3 separate regions of the Homo sapiens genome follow, and regions 1 and 2 are each linked to region 3. The links are contacts of gene promoters, found by promoter capture Hi-C in human tissues and cell types (Jung and others, 2019). All regions are on one chromosome and are shown on one strand. Each heading gives the region's core, a stretch centred on a gene start or on the middle of the fragment in contact. The rest is flanking DNA. Distances are from core to core; before and after follow the strand shown.

What was found. Contacts are between HindIII fragments. The study calls those that stand out against the background at their distance.
Region 1: a fragment that was not itself captured here is called in contact with the fragment with the promoter of VN1R2 in region 3 in 2 of the 25 tissues and cell types used here (hippocampus and lymphoblastoid cells).
Region 2: a fragment that was not itself captured here is called in contact with the fragment with the promoter of VN1R2 in region 3 in 2 of the 25 tissues and cell types used here (mesenchymal stem cells and mesendoderm cells).

The regions. Positions count from the first base shown.
Region 1 is chr19:53,073,110-53,075,809 of GRCh38, reverse strand. ZNF160 (zinc finger protein 160) reads left to right here. Exons shown (of 6, transcript NM_001322131.2): 4 at 627-753; 5 at 1,542-1,670. Among named protein-coding and RNA genes, the nearest start is that of ZNF160, 29 kb to the left of the region's middle. The HindIII fragment of the contact is 9,128 bases long and covers 1-2,700 here.
Region 2 is chr19:53,408,754-53,411,644 of GRCh38, reverse strand. The region is part of intron 3 of ZNF765-ZNF761 (ZNF765-ZNF761 readthrough); the gene reads right to left. It overlaps ZNF765 (zinc finger protein 765), which reads right to left. Exons shown (of 4, transcript NM_001040185.3): 4 at 1-2,891. The coding sequence ends at 2,518. It also overlaps the pseudogene LOC124904793. Among named protein-coding and RNA genes, the nearest start is that of ZNF765-ZNF761, 15 kb to the right of the region's middle. The HindIII fragment of the contact is 3,821 bases long and covers 1-2,891 here.
Region 3 is chr19:53,256,970-53,259,708 of GRCh38, reverse strand. VN1R2 (vomeronasal 1 receptor 2) reads right to left here and starts at 1,417. Exons shown (of 1, transcript NM_173856.2): 1 at 107-1,417. The coding sequence starts at 1,333. The coding sequence ends at 146. The HindIII fragment of the contact is 12,643 bases long and covers 1-2,739 here.

The DNA.
Region 1 (2,700 bases), core at 1-2,500, 180 kb after region 3:
ACCCCCTCCTTGAAATTGATTAGTTTGCTTGAGTGGCTCACATAACACAGGGAAACACTTATATTTACCCATTTATTATAGAAGATGCTACAAAGCACACAGATGAACATCTAGATGGAAGTGATCTATTAGTTGAGATATGGGAAAGGAGTGAGGAGCTGGGATGTATTCTCTCATGTATTCTGTCTTTTTTGAGTTTTCATGGAGGCCCCATTATGGAGGCCTTGCTTCCATTATTGGCATTGGTGATCAACTGAACTTTCATTCCCTCTGTCCTCCCGAGAGGACAGAGGCTTAGTCTAACCGAGCCTCAGCCTTTCCAGTGACCACCCACCGAGCCTTAGTTCCGGTGACCGCCCTCCATCCTGAAGCTACCTAGGTGCTCCAGACACCAATTATCCCATTAATGTACAAAAAGATACTTATCACTCCACTGATTTCAAGTGAGCTCTTATGTCAGGAGAGGGGGATGAAGACCAAATCTGTATGTCACATTGTCACAATCTGGATCTGTCAGCTCACCCACTTCAATTTAACCTATTCTCACATTTTTCTCCTCTTCTCCTTTTATGTGAAATTTTGAACTCTCCCCTTAGCCACTTGGTGAAATGTGTTTTTCATTTTAGGTACGGTTGACATTTAGGGATGTGGCCATAGAATTCTCTCAGGAGGAGTGGAAATGCCTGGACCCTGCTCAGAGGATCTTATACAGGGACGTGATGTTGGAGAACTACTGGAACCTTGTTTCTCTGGGTGAGGATGACTTTCTTCCAGAAGTCAAGATCTGTTCTTGTCTATTGTTGCATTTTCCCTTACGAGTCCCTGGAGAGCCCCTGCATTGCTTGACTGAGATTGAAGTCCTGTTGACTCTGAAATGGAAAGCTTAATCATGGGAAACCTGGACTTTAATCTTCCCCTTTCTCAGATGTTCTGCCTCCTTTGTACTTCATCATTTGAGGTTTCAGAGCTTTTGTATGCATAATACATTGTGTTAGACTTTTGAAATGTCAGATTTCCTGTTTTCTACCTCTCTGCTTTGGATTAAGTTGTTGGTGGAATAGAGCCTTCTATCAGCATGTACCATGTTTCCTGGGTATTCAGAAGGAGGCATTCAGTGGATGATTTTTTTTTTTTTTTTTTGAGGCGGAGTCTCGCTCTGTCGCCCGGGCTGGAGTGCAGTGGCGTGATCTAGGCTCCCTGCAAGCTCTGCCTCCCAGGTTCATGCCATTCTCCTGCCTTAGCCTCCCGAGTAGCTGGGACCACAGGCGCCCGCCACCACACCTGGATAATTTTTTTTTATGTTTTTAGTAGAGACAGGGTTTCACCATGTTAGCCATCATGATCTCCATCTCCTGACCTTGTGATCCACCCACCTCAGCTTCCCAAAATGCTGGGATTACAGGCATGAGCCACCGCGCCTGGCCCAGTGGATGAATTTTTGAAGTTTTCTTAGATCCACATATAATGTCCTCTCATGTAAACATAGGGCTGGGATTCTGGAAAAGCCCCGGCACATTGTGATCCTTTCTTTTTATAAACAGGACTGTGTCATTTTGATATGAATATTATCTCCATGTTGGAGGAAGGGAAAGAGCCCTGGACTGTGAAGAGCTGTGTGAAAATAGCAAGAAAACCAAGAACGCCGGAATGTGTCAAAGGCGTGGTCACAGGTAAGAGCTCAGATGGGCAGAGAGAAGGCCACTCATTAACTAGAGTGTGGGAGGGGGCACAGTAGCTCACGCCTGTAATCTCAACACTTAGGGAGGCCAAGGTGGGCAGATCACTTGAGGTCAGGAGTTCGAGACCAGCCTGACCAACATTGTGAAACCCTATCTCTACTAAAAATACAAAAAAAAATTAGCCGGGCATGGTGGCGTGTGCCTGTAGTCCCAGCTACTCAGGAGGCTGAGGCAAGAGAATTGCTTGAACCCGGGAGGTGGAGGTTGCAGTGAGCCAAGATCATGCCACTGCACTCCAGCCTGGGTGGACAGAACAAAACTCCGTCTCAAAATAAATAAATAAATAAAGTGGGAAACTCTCTGCAGATGAGAGAGTTCTTTGGGAAAATAAGTTGCCTTAGAGATAGAGGCAAAGTCTTTATCATGATGGACAACACCCTGTCATTTGAACTCTATGGTTCCTTCTGAAGAAACTGCTTTCTTTCTTGGTCTCTCCCTCTGTATTTAATTCCATATGGTGCTCAGTTCTTAGTCCATATGGGTCAGAGGGGAAGCCTCCATAGTCCTTAGTCCTGACGTCTAGACCTGTTTATGTTCCACCCCATTTCCTGTGCGTGGAAGACCTGCTCAGGAGATGGAAACATTGGCTGCTGCTCCTTGGCATCTGCTGCCCCAAACCTCATGGAAGAGTCTCCAGCCGTCTCCGCCTGTCGAGGTCCCTCGGCCATTTCTTCCATTCTGCTTTTGCCACTTTCATGGGGGTGTGTGATAAGCGAGTGGGTTCTATCTTCTAAGATTGTTCTCAGCATAACCGTAAAGACACCTAACAAAATCCTTCTGTCATTGATCCTCAGTCTTACATGGGGTGCGTATTCTGTTTTTCCAGGCTTCAGCACAGAAATACAAGTACTGCATGTTGTCACTTACATTTGGAATCTAAACCAATAAAACTAATAGCAGCAAAGAGTAGAATGTGGGTTACCACAGGTTGGGGACTGGAGGGAATAGGGAGATGTTGGTC
Region 2 (2,891 bases), core at 1-2,500, 150 kb before region 3:
AACCCAATGTGATTTAGATTCAACACGGTACCCATAAAAATCCTTATCACTGGGGCTGGGCGCAGTGGCTCACGCCTGTAATCCCAGCACTTTGGGAGGCCGAGGTGGGTGGATCATCTGAGGCTGGGAGTTCAAGACCAGCCTAACCAACATGGAGAAACCCCATCTCTACTAAAAATACAAAATTAGCTGGGCGTGGTGGCTCATGCCTGTAATCCTAGCTACTCTGGAGGCTGAGGCAGGAGAATTGCTTGAACCTGGGAGGCGGAGGTTGTAGTGAGCTGGGATCGCTCCATTGCAGTCCAGCCTGGGCAACAAGAGTGAAACTCCATCTCAAAAAAAAAAAAAAAAATCCCTATCAGTTTTTGTTAAAGAAACAAAAAACAGGCTGGGAAAATGGCTCACGTCTGTTGGCCAGGCTGACCTCAAACTCCTGAACTCAAGTGATCTACCGGTGCTGGCCTCCCAAAGCGCTCAGATTACAGGTGTGAGCCACTGTGCCTGGCCCAGTCCTCTTAACATAAACACTTTAATGTCAATTAAGGCTTCAACTCAATGTTAAGTCAAACTCAAGTCAATGCTGAACTGACTCTAGTGTCAATTAATGCTTGATGGTTTGCTATACACATTGTATTTGGAACAACTATCTCCAAAATGAATTTTCTGATATCCTGCAAGGAGTGAGCTCAGACTGAAGACTTTGGCACACTGATGACATTTATAAGATTTCTGTCCAGTATGCATTCTCTGATGTCTAGTGAGGTGTGAATGTGAATTAAAGGCTTTGCCGCAATCATCACACTTGTGAGGTTTCTCTCCTGTATGAATTCTCCTATGTTTTGCATAGAATGAAGCTTGACTGAGACCTTGTCACAATCATGACATTTGTAAGGTTTCTCTCCAGTACGAGTTCGCCGATGAACTGCAAGTTATGAACAATGTCTGAAAAATTTGCCAAATTTATTAAACTAGTATGATCTCTCTTCATTATGGATTCTCCAATGATTCGCAATGGTTGTAGTGTAACTGAAGACTTTGTGACAATCATTACATAAGTAAAGTTTCCCTACACCATGGATTGCCTGATGGTAAACAAGTGTTGACTGCCCACTAAAGACCTGTCACATTCATTATACTTGTAAGCTTTCTCTCCAATGTGAATTCTAGGATGTTGTGCCAGGTGCGAATTATGCCTGAAAGCCTTGTCACAAACTCTTACATTTTTATGCTATCTCTCCAGTAGGAATTCTCCTGTGTCTTTCAAGGTTTGAGTGTGACTGAAAACTTGGTGACATTCTTCACATATGTAAGCTTTCTCTCCAGTATGAATTCTCCTGTCTTTGGAGGCTTGATTTGCGACTGTAAACTTTGTCACATGCTTCACATTTGTAACGTTTATCTCCAGTATGAATTCTATGATGATGTGCAAGCTTTGCTTTTTGATTTAAAACCTTGCCACGTTCATTACACTGCTAAGGTTTCTCTCTAGTATGAATTCTATGACTATCAAGGTTTGATTTGAATCTGAAAGCTTCATCACATTCTTCACATTTGTAAGGTTTCTAATACGACTTCACCCATGAACTGCAAAGGTATGAAGGATGTCTGAAAAATTTTCTGCATTTATTCTGCATTTATCACACTTGTAGGATCTCTCTTCATTATGGATTCTCCAATGATTTGCAATAGTTGTAGCATTACTCAAGACTTGGTGACAATCATTACATTTGTAAAATGCTGACTGCCCATGAAAGGTTTTTCTACACTCATTATCCTTGTAAGGTACCTCTCCAGTATGAAGTCTACGATGGTGCGTAAGGTATGACTTCAGACTAAAGGTCTTGCCACACTCACTACACTTTTAAGGTATCTCTCCAGTATGAAGTCTATGATGGCATGTAAGGTATGAGTTCTGACTAAAGGTCTTGCCACACTCATTACATTTGTAAGGTATCCTCCAGTATGAAGTCTACGATGGCGTGTAAGGTATGAGTTCTGACTAAAGGTCTTGCCACACTCATTACACTTGTATGGTTTCTCTCCAGTATGAATTCTCCTTTGTCTTTCAAGGTTTGATTTGAAATGGAAAACTCAAATTCTTCACATTTGTAAGGTTTCTCTCCAGTACGAAGTCTACAATGGCATGTAAGGGATGAGGTCTGGCTGAAGGTCTTGCCACACTCATTACACCTGTAAGGTTTCTCACCAGTGTGAATTCTCCTATGTCTTTCAAGGTTGGATTTGAAACAGAAAGCTTCTTCACATTCTTCACATTTGTAAGGTCTCTCCACTATGAAGTTTATGATGGTACACAAAAGATGACGTATGACTCAAGGTCTTGCCACACTCATTACACTTGTAAGATTCTCTTCAGTACGAATTTTCTGATGTATTTCAAGGTTTGATTTGAAATTGTAAGCTTTGTCAAGTTCTTCATATTTGTAAGGTTTCTCTCCACTATGAAGCCTACGATGGCATGTAAGGGTTAACTCCTGATTGAAGGTCTTACCACACTCATTACACGTGTAGTTTCTCTCCAGTATAAATTCTCCTATGTCTTTCAAGGTTTGATTTGAAACTGAAAGCTTCATCACAATCTTCACATTTGTAAGGTTTCTGTCCAGTATGAAGTCTATGATGGTATGTAAGGGATGACGTCCGGCTGAAGGTCTTGCCACACTCATTACACTTGTAAGGATTCTCTTCAGTATGAATTTTCTGATGTATTTCAAGGTTTGATTTGAAACTGTAGGCTTTGTCACATTCTTCACATTTGTAAGGTTTCTCTCCACTATGAAGTCTACAAATGTTAAGGGTTAACTGCTGATTGAAGGTCTTGCCACACTCATTACACTTGTAAGGTTTCTCTTCAGTATGAAGTCTACGATGGT
Region 3 (2,739 bases), core at 168-2,667:
TGGCTATTATTATTTAGTATTTCACATTGGATAAGTCTCTGTCTTATTCACCCCTCTCTCTGCAGTGAAATTGGCTGATAATCATTCTTAAGATCCCTTGAGGTCTGAGTGCATCAGTGGCCGAACATAAACCAAGACAGCCAATTCACATTTTCCTGAAATCATGAAAGAATCGTCTATTTCTTCTGCAGCAGATACTGCAGAGCCTGGATCTGCTGGGGTCACGGCACATGAGAACAAAAGGGCTAATAGTTGGAAAACAGGCAATGATTAGTGCAGCAGTGTTCACTAGCCACCAACTGGAATTATCGAAGAGAGCTAAATAAACGTAGGTGATGAAGGAAAGGGCGTAACATAATGCAAAGGTGCTCACCAATGCAAGGATGCTTTGGATGGCTCTGTTCCCAGGAGAAGAGTTGGGGTAGAGATTGTTCCTACAGATGTGTTGTACCTGCTGTTTGTGCCTGTACAAGACCAAAACGATGGAGCTGCTGGCCCAGAGCATGAGCCCCAGACACAAAACATCATGGAAGGATGTCAATGCTGCATATACTGACTTTGTGACTTCATCACTAAGTGGGGCAGAACAATATCCCAAATCTCCTTTCTTTGTGATGTTGTTGTTGCTCCATTTGCCAGTTGTATAAATAGGAAAAATGGCATTTACCAGCATGTGGAAGGCCCAGCACAGGATATTGGAGAGACCAATGTATGTCGGGGCTTTTACTTTCATCTCTGCCCACCTGGAGTTCCTAGGGTTGATGGTGATCACCTGGAAGACACTCAAGAGGCAGGTGCTTCCAATGGACACACCCCTGCCTACCCTGTGTGCATACAAAAGAAATTTGCATCCAAAATAATTGTCAAAATGTTTCAACCCAAAAGTTGCCATGGTCTCTGGGATTCTTTTAGATAGGATAACCAAGGAGTCAGCTACAGTCAGGTGCCTGAGAATCAAATCTGTGGATCTTGGCTTGTATCCCCTAAAGTAAAGGAACATATAATAATATAAGAGTGAAAAATTCCCCAGGATTCCAACAACTACCTGGAATAGTGTAGGGTCCAGCCCCACAGGTTTGGTGGGTTTCTCTCCGTGTGCAGAGACAAGAGAGTGTAGAAATAAAGACACAAGACAAAGAGATGAAAGAAAAGACAGCTGTGTCTGGGGGACCACTACCACCAAGACGCGGAGACCGGTAGTGGCCCCGAATGCCAGGCTGCACTGATATTTATTGGATACAAAGCAGGAGACTGGTAGTGGCCCCAAATGCCAGGCTGCGCTGATATTTATTGGATACAAAGCAAAAGGGGTAGGGTAAAGAGTGTGAGTCATCTCCAATGATAGGTAAGGTCACGTGGGTCACGTGTCCACTGGACAGGGGGCCCTTCCCTGCCTGGCAGCCAAGGCAGAGAGAGAGAGAGGGAGAGAGAGAGACAGCTTATGCCATTATTTTTGCATATCAGAGACTTTTAGTACTTTCACTAATTTTACTACTGCTATCTAGAAGGCAGAGCCAGGTGTACAAGATGGAACATGAAGGCAGACCAGGAGCGTGACCACTGAAGCACAGCATCACAGGGAGACAGGCCTCTGGATAACTGCAGGTGGTACTGAGTCAGGCCCTCCACAAGAGGTGGAGGAGTAGAGTCTTCTCTAAACTCCCCCAGGGAAAGGGAGACTCCCTTTCCCGGTCTGCTAAATAGCGGGTGTTTTTCCCTGACACTAACGCTACCGCTAGACCACGGTCCACTTGGCAACGGGCGTCTTCCCACACGCTGGCGTTACCCCTAGACCAAGGAGCCCTCTGGTGGCCCTGTCTGGGCGTAACAGAAGGCTCGCGCTCTTGTCTTCTGGTCACTTTTCACTATGTCTCCTCAGCTCCTATCTCTGTATGGCCTGGCTTTTCCTAGGTTATGATTATAGAGCGAGGATTATTATAATATTGGAATAAGAGTAATTGCTACCAACTAATGATTAATGATATTCATATATAATCATGTCTATGATCTAGATCTAATATAACTCTTGTTGTTTTATATATTTTATTATGCTGGAACAGCTCGTGCCCTCGGTCTCTTGCCTCGGCAGCTGGGTGGCTTGCTGCCCACAAATAGGAAGATCATTCCAATTTTCAGGTCCACAGAGGCCATTCTGTCATTTTCCAGCACTCAATATTGAGTAAGCAGAAGGTTCTGCATGGCAACACGAGTTGTGGGCCACATTTTCATGGAAAATAACCTTTCACTTATGACGATTTCTTCCCCCTGAATATTAAAAGTGAAATATATAGAGAGATATATTGTTAACAAATTTCCCATTTCGTGTATTTCTTTTTACAGCACCTACAATGTATGAGTGACTTTTATAAATGCTGTACCTATTCTGACATTTAATATTCACAACTCCATGAGGTAGGAATTCATATTATTCTCCTTTCACCAACTCTAAAAGAGTTTAAGCACAAGGAGATTAGGTGACTCATTTAAATACCAGAAGAGTGAAGATTTGAACGTGAGTAGCCTGGTTGCAGTAACATTGGTGTTCACTACTACGCTATAATAGTTGCCTAGTTGTGTCCTTTATATATCTATACACACATATATATACATATACACACACACATACATACACGCACACCTACATATGTATAAATATTTGTCATGTTCACTTTATAAATTTGGTTTGATAATTTCCTATTTTTGTCAAAGTATTTATTCTACATATCAATATAACTTATG